Regions from separate parts of the Homo sapiens genome. Here region 1 is linked to region 2. The links are contacts of gene promoters, found by promoter capture Hi-C in human tissues and cell types (Jung and others, 2019). All regions are on one chromosome and are shown on one strand. Each heading gives the region's core, a stretch centred on a gene start or on the middle of the fragment in contact. The rest is flanking DNA. Distances are from core to core; before and after follow the strand shown.

Region 1 (3,698 bases), core at 37-2,536, 79 kb before region 2:
TTCCTTCATGGCCTTTCTTGGTCAGTTTAACACTTGCCCCTAATGTGGTAACCACTCCTTTGACATCTACCATTACAGATTAGTATTACCTGTTCTTGAACTTCATCTATGGAACCATACACAGTGTACTCCTTTCTGACATTTGTATAACTCTTACTGTGAAAAGCTGATCTTTTAACGATCAGGGTGGACTGGTTGGACTACTAACCCTTACACCTTTGGAACCCGTGAGTCCTGGAAGTCCTGGAAAGCCCTAGATTCAAGTGAAAAAAGAAAAAGTAAACACTCTGAAAATTATTTGGCACTAAGAAACCCATACATCAAACCCAGTCTCAGTCACATGCCAAGCTGTTTTGCCCTTCTGATTATTTCATTGTTAATAAGATTCAATTGCTTGCTTATTTCATTGGAACTTGATAATTGTTTATCAGAAAAGACAAAAATTCATTCAAACCCTTGCTACTCAAAGTGGGGTTTGGGGCCTGCAGCATTAGCATTACCTGGAAGCTTATCAGAAATGTAGAATCTTAGATCTGCCTCACCTCCCAGACTATTGACCGAGAATCTGCATGTTTAACATGATTCTTTAGTGATTCTTGTGCACATTAAAGTCTGTGCAAAAGTCCTAATTAGCCTCACAGCTGCTGAGGTCTGATAAAAATGAATGACACAACTACAGTTGTGGATGAGAATGCCAGCCAGTATTTCTGTGCACAAGAAACACTCTATTAACAAAATGTGCCTGACATGCACAAGGAAATATATAGCCAAGTAAGGACTGCCTGAACCAGAGATAAACTTGCTTTGGGCATGTAATGCATTCAGTTTCGACGTCCTATTTCTTGGAGAATAAGCTTAAATGGTGACTGTTTCAGCTAGGCCACGTGGTGTGAAAGTTTCATTGTCCAAAAGCCATTTTCATCATTCCAGAGAGTTTCAGTATGTTTTGATTTTTAATTTTATTGTTATTATTTGAGAAAAGGGTTGTTACAGAATCCTCTGAGATTGCACTGTCAAGGCCAAAGTCAGTCTCTCCCATCTATGGCGGAATTCCGGGGTGCATGGCTGTGTTCAAGGCCATTCCCCTTCCCACAGAATTCTATTCACGTGATGCCGAAAGCAGAAGGTTTTACTTGCAGGTTTTACTTTCTCATTGTAAACTTTTTTCATGCAGAAAACATTTAAAATTAAGATAGGAATCTTGTAAATCTAAAACATCTTTTTGGTCAGGTTTTAATATTCTCTAATTGTCTGCCTTTGATTGTATTATCTTTTGTAGCTATTCATACATATCTGTAAGCCTTACATGCTTTAAAATATCAATCTATGACAACATGGTACTCAGGTTTTCTGGATTAATCTTCTGGAATGCCTGCACTCATGTAACCCATACTAAGTGCCATGTGTTTGTGACTATTTTAATGAATTTCAGCATCTCTAAAGAAATGCTGAAGAGAATTAAACAGAGTAGGCTACAGATAACAATTTTTTTAAAAACGGAATTGGCATTAGGCTGATCTAAGTCCAGGGTTGAAGTGGCAAACTCGTTCTACCAATAGAAATGGAAGAAAACCTGGGTCCATGCCTTAGAGGAAGTCAGTGTTCAGTTTCTGCCCAGAATCTGGATGACTTTTTCAAAATTAGGATCGGAAGAAGGAGAAATGGACAAAAAGAACACATACATGGATATGGTAGACAGGGAAATGGCAGGATTACTGGAAAACAGCAAGATTTTGCATTTTACATGTAAGCTGTGGGTGTGGTTTCAAGAGTTTGATTCTGGCATCATATATGTGACATAAGAAACACATATTTGTTCTGTGCCTTTGGTTCCTGACACAGAGCTCCTAAAACCCTTCTAATATTCTGAGTGATAGGGGAGTAAAGACCATCTTTTGTTCTAATATTTGGTGTTTGACCTCACTTGGAATATCCTGGGTGATAGAAGTGTCTTTTGTTCTAAGGAGGCAACTCTTGGTGGGCTCCCAGATGGGGGCTGGTCATCAGAAAGACCAAGTCTTGATTAGAAGCTTGAAACTTTGAGCTCCAGCTGCACCCTTCAGTGAGGAAAGCGGAGCTGGAGATTGAGTTTATAATTGATCCTGCCCACATGATGACACCTCCATAAGAATCCCTGAAGCATGGTGTTCAGAGAGCTTCTGGGTGGGTGAACGTTCACGTTCCAGGACGGTAATGCACCTTAACTCCATGGCGACAGAAGCTCCTGCACTTGGGACCCTTCTGGACCTTCTCCTGTGTATCTCTTCATCTCTCATTCATATCCCTTATAATAAACTGATAAATGTTCCCATGAGTTCTATGAGACTCTTTAGCAAATTATCAAAGCAGAGGAGGAGGTCATGGGAACCCCTGATTTATTTGTAGCCAAGTTGGACGGCATTATGGGTAACTGAGGACCCACTACTTATGACTAGTCCTGAAACAGGGACAGTCTTGTGGGACTGAGCCCTTACCCTATGGGGTCTGCACTAACCCCAGGTATTTAATGTCATAACTGAATTGAGGGGTACCCAGTTGGCATCCAGAGAGTTGGAGAATTGTTTGGTTTGAGGAAAATCCCACACACAGTGTCAAACCAGGTTTGAACTCTGATTTTGCTTCCTGTGAGCTGCGTGACCCAGGAAAAATTACTCAAGTGCTCTGTGTCCGTTTTCTCATCCATGTAGTGGAGGTAATGATGGGAACTACATTGTAAATCACCACAGTCATGATTTGTGGGATTGATGTGAGGAGTAAATGAGATCCAGGGAGAAATAGATGGCCCAATGCCTGGCACAGAGTACATATGCAGTAGGTTGGCTTTGGCTTTGATTATCATTTACATATTTCATACATTATTTTAATACATATATATATATACACACACGTATATATTTTTTTAATGGAGTCTCGCTCTATTACCCAGGCTGGAGTGCAGTAGCATGATCATGGCTCACTGCAGCCTCCGCCTCCAGGGCTCAAGCAATCCTCCTACCTCAGCCTCCTGAGTAGCTGAGACCACAGGCATATGCCACCACACCTGGCTAATTTTTGTATTTTTGGTAGAAACTGGGTCTCCTTATGTTGCCCAGGTTGACCTCAAACTCGTGGGCTCAAGTGATCCTCCTGCCTCAGCCTCCCAGAGCAATGGGATTACAGGCATGAGCCACTGTGTCTGGCCTCTAATACATATTCTAATATATTATGAAATTTGTAAAAGACCTGTATAGATCAATTATAATCATTTTTCATAGCTTATTAGTTGGTTTATAGCTTGCTGGAGGTCAGTAGTCAGGGGAATGAATGTGTGGGTGCGTGAGAAGCCAGGCTTAAGTCTAGCTAATGTCCACAGCAGGAAAGAGTACTCAGCAAATCCAGTGGTTATTCAGTTATTTAGTAAATCCTCTATGGTATTTATTTAAACAAAGCCCTTTGCTGTATCACAGACTTTAGGATAAGAATGTGTGATGAGTGTGAAGGGTCATAGACTCGGGATGTTTAAGGGACCAGAAGGAAAAGAGAAACCCACAAAGGAAGGGAAGGATAGAGAGACAGGAGAAATACAGAAAGAAAGACAGACAAGTGTTTCAAGGAGAGGAGAGCGATCCACACAATTTGAAACTAAGCAGAGGGGTTCAGGTCAGATTAAGACACAAAAGTATGTATTGGCATTGGCCACTTGAAGGTCATTGGTGATC
Region 2 (3,833 bases), core at 505-3,004:
TCATGGACAATGTTTGGAAAACTACATGAAATATGAAAGTGGTGAAAGTGGACACCTCTTGGAAGACAAGGAAATGGGGAGAGGTATGGGGGGTGTCAGAGAGGGCTTTAGTTTCACCTATAATGTCTGCAATGTCTTCATTTAATTTAAATAGGAAAAACATATAGAACCTATATGTGACCATAGGTTCTAAAATTCTTTTCATGTAACATATATAAATATTTATGTGACCGTTAATTTCCAATCATAATCTCAATGATAACATTTGTAAAAACATCTGCTCATCCTTGGAAATGAAATTTCCTATGCCACGTTATCACCCAAATCAACTTTTTAAAGTGTAAAAATAACAAGTATCTGAAAAGTTAAAGTTTACTTTCACAAGGTAAAATCAAGTGAGTCAACTCTAGGAGGCACAATCGTTTTGAGGACAATCAATTTCTATTTAATGGCAAAGAATAAGAAATATGGGATGGATTTAAATAAATCCAGTTTCACTCAAATTCCAAGTCAAAAATCAAATCAAAGTGTCAGATTGCTTAAATGATTCTAACCTGAGTTCGATTTCTAAGGTGCTCTTAATTTTTCAGTGATAGCATTTGCTTTTCCCAACAATAGCAAAGGAAAACTGGAGGGCAAGTTTTGCAAGGAAGAAACTGAGCCCCAGAGAGGTCAGGGTTTAGTGTGACGTCCCAGCTAGGAAGTGGCGGCTGGGACTCCCTGCAGGTGTCTCCTGCCAGCCCTCTGTGCGCTGGGCCAAGCTGCTTGATTTGATTCACCAGCGTGACACCGTGCATCTCCACATCCGGTGTTCTCACGTATCATCCCTGGCGATTATCTATGTGTCTATTTTTTAATTTACTGACCTCTGGAGGCCTGTCCCCGCCATCCCTGACTCCTAGGCACTGGACAAGCCCCCTCCTCGCCTCTTCCCCCAGCCCCGCGCATTCCACCTGTTCCGGGGCATCCCCGCTTGCTCCCTTCCGCTCGCTGCCTGTCCCGGGACCTGCGTGAAGCCCTCAGCCTCGCCACTAGCCCGGCAGCCGCTCCACTACCGCGCCGCTGCGGGTGGGGCCAGCGCGTCCCCCGGACGCGTGGAGGAGGGATGGAAGTGCGGGGGTGGGGGTCGCGCAGCCCCCACTCACCTTGCTGGCTGCGGGCGCCGCCGCCAGGAGCACCAGCAGGAGCGGCAGCAGGAGCACCTGCGGCCTGGGGGCGGTCCGGGCGCTCATGGTGGGCGCGCGCTCAGAGCCTGGGCGAGTCCGGGGACCCTCAGGCTCTCAGGCCACCGCGTCTCCTGCGCAGCGCGGCTCTGGGAGCCCGGCTGGAAAGCTCGCCTCGCCACTCGGCCGGGGCGGGTTTTGTAGGGCTCGGTCGCGCGGTTCGTCCCTCCCCACCCAGGCTTTTTGGTTGTGGCTTCAAGGGAGGGAAGACGTGGCTCAGGTCCCGCCCTCATACCCCCTCCCTCCCAACTTACCAGGCAGTGTCCCTTCTACCCGGGCATCGTGCCCAGGAGGCGAGAAAGGGCTGGGCGCCTGAGGGGCAGGTGGGCGCGGATCCAGGGTAAGGGGTTAAGGAGGTGATGCTCCCAAGGTCCGGGGGCCCAGGCGGGGAAGTGGGGTGCGGTCGGAGGTGGGGCGTTTGGGGGTGTGCGGTGGGGAGGTGGCTGCGCGGTGGGGAGGTGGCTGCGCAGGGTGGAGGGAGTGGCCAGCGGCCCTGCCCAGATTAAGCGGGAGGCGCGCCGGGCGTCTGCACTCGGGAGGCCCCGCTTGTTCCCCGCGCCCGCGGCGGTCCGCGTTCCCCGCCTCCAGCCCGCCTCCAACTTGCGGCCGCCGGGCTTGGCTGCGAGAGCGCCGCGAAGAGGCAGCGGGGCGCGGGTGGATTGGGGCTGGAGGTGCGCGTCCCGTGGGGTGGCAAGGCGGCAGCTCCTGGCGCTGCGGGCGTCCCCACAGGTAAGGCGCCCATAGGTGGGGCAACCGCTGTCCCGGGGCCCCGGCACCTGCCTGGGAGGGGCAGTGGAGGGAGCGTGGCATTCAAGGGGTGGTGGCGGGCCCAGCTGGGGAGTTGTGGCCCGGGGGTCACCAGAGGAGAGCGCGTCTGGCTCCTGGGCTTGTCTGCCTGGGCTTTAACTGGGTGCTGTGTGTTTTGATTAATTTGGAGGCTCGAGTTACCGGCCTGGCAGTCGGGGCACTCCAAAATGCCAAGAGAAAGAGGCAGCTGAGGAGAAAGAGAAAGCCCATCTTATTCTCCGCTGAGTTGAACTGCTTTTCAGGCCAAATCTTATCTGCGGAAATGCAGGGCAAAACAAGACTCAGCTCTGGTCAGGGTGCGCTCTTCCTGGGGGTGGCCTGCGATGCAAATGTGCCAGGGCACGGTCCTCCAGCCGGCTCTCGCCGTTTCCTGTGCTACGGACCACACTGGCTCTGGTAAAGCAATTAGACTGTTTCTCAGAAGAATGTTGTGAAATGCATAAAATACAATTAAATCAGAATCAGTTTTATTGGAATGCAATTATGGAAGTCCTCAAGTCGTGATATAGTAACTAACACAGGTGCATCATCATTATTGCATTAAATAGCTTGATTTAACAGCAGGCCGATTAAGCAACAGTAATGTCAAAGTAGTGATGTCTGCAAATGGTATTTTGAGATAATAGCCCAAACTGAAATGTGACATGAAAATACCGGTGGGTGCAAATTATCAAGAACTGCCAATACTACTGTGCTCTGTTGCCTGTGCTCATAAGGGAAGGACATGTTGAACTTCTGTGACATGTTACTAAAAGTAAAGATGCAACTTATTTTCCTATGTGAGTTTCCTATACAGATCACCTGAATTCCATCCTCAGGTTAAGAATCTTTGCTTTGGAACAGTGTTGCTGATATTTGCTGCAATTGGCTTCAGACACCAAGTATGATCATGCAGTTGGTCACTGATTTTAGGGAACCACTTGCTTGCAGTTAAATTTGGGATCTATTGGTATCTTAGAACTTTGTAGCCATGCAGGTAGGCAAAACCCTAACAGTGAATGAAGACACTCCTCCCATTCTTTTTATTTTGACTATAGCATGAATCTTACAGTCTTCTTTCTGTCTTTTATGCCAGTGATTCTCAACTATCGTTGTGCATTAGAATCTTTGGGAGGATAAAACAATGTTGCTACCCAGACCATTCCAAGCCAATTTTATCAGACTCTCTAGCTGTTTTAAAATTTCCTGTACATTCCCATGCACAATCAAGTATGAGAGCTCCTGTTTTCACGAACATGTGAAAATTTCACGCACATGTTGAATTAGGATATATTCTTAGTAGAATAATAAAAAGCACATATATTAAACTCTTCATTACAACTTGGGAACACTGCGGAATTTATGACCATATCGCAGATGTTGCTGTGTGGTATGCAGTAGCTTCTTTCCATTGGTAGGGAAGGTTCTTCTGGAAACTTCTGCCACTCTTGTGGAATGAAACGGTAGGTGTTCTGTTGATGAGGTGACAGTGTCCAAGAGTTCTGAGAGTCACATGATTATGTTTCACAAACTGACAGTATTTAATTTTAAAAAGTACAAACAAAAAAATCTCAATGCTAATGTTAAATGCTTCTCTTTGCCAAATTCCAGAAGATTCCTCAATTTGAATTTTAATTGCCTTTTCCTGAAACCAAGTCATTTTGTTGGAGGACTAGACTTGGTTTTATCAATTTTGGAACAGGAAGTAATAGTCAACTGCAAGTCATTTCTGTTGCAGATACAGAGCTGGAAAGAAACTTGTGATGTAAATACAGCAAGAAAGAGGCAATGCTGGAGAGCTTGACCTCTGGAGTAGACTCTGGA

Evidence for each region. The method cuts DNA at HindIII sites, captures the fragments that hold promoters and counts their contacts. A contact is called where the count stands out against the background at its distance.
Region 1: a fragment that was not itself captured here is called in contact with the fragment with the promoter of COL4A4 in region 2 in 2 of the 25 tissues and cell types used here (aorta and mesenchymal stem cells).

Annotation. Positions count from the first base shown.
Region 1 is chr2:227,240,875-227,244,572 of GRCh38, reverse strand. It overlaps COL4A3 (collagen type IV alpha 3 chain), which reads right to left. Exons shown (of 52, transcript NM_000091.5): 4 at 209-253. The region is part of intron 9 of MFF-DT (MFF divergent transcript); the gene reads left to right. Among named protein-coding and RNA genes, the nearest start is that of COL4A3, 78 kb to the right of the region's middle. The HindIII fragment of the contact is 3,783 bases long and covers 1-3,177 here.
Region 2 is chr2:227,162,126-227,165,958 of GRCh38, reverse strand. COL4A4 (collagen type IV alpha 4 chain) reads left to right here and starts at 1,754. Exons shown (of 48, transcript NM_000092.5): 1 at 1,754-1,952. It overlaps COL4A3 (collagen type IV alpha 3 chain), which reads right to left and starts at 1,335. Exons shown (of 52, transcript NM_000091.5): 1 at 1,146-1,335. The coding sequence starts at 1,232. RefSeq lists silencers at 1,102-1,281, 1,502-1,881 and enhancers at 2,152-2,251, 1,526-2,427. The HindIII fragment of the contact is 11,311 bases long and covers 1-3,833 here.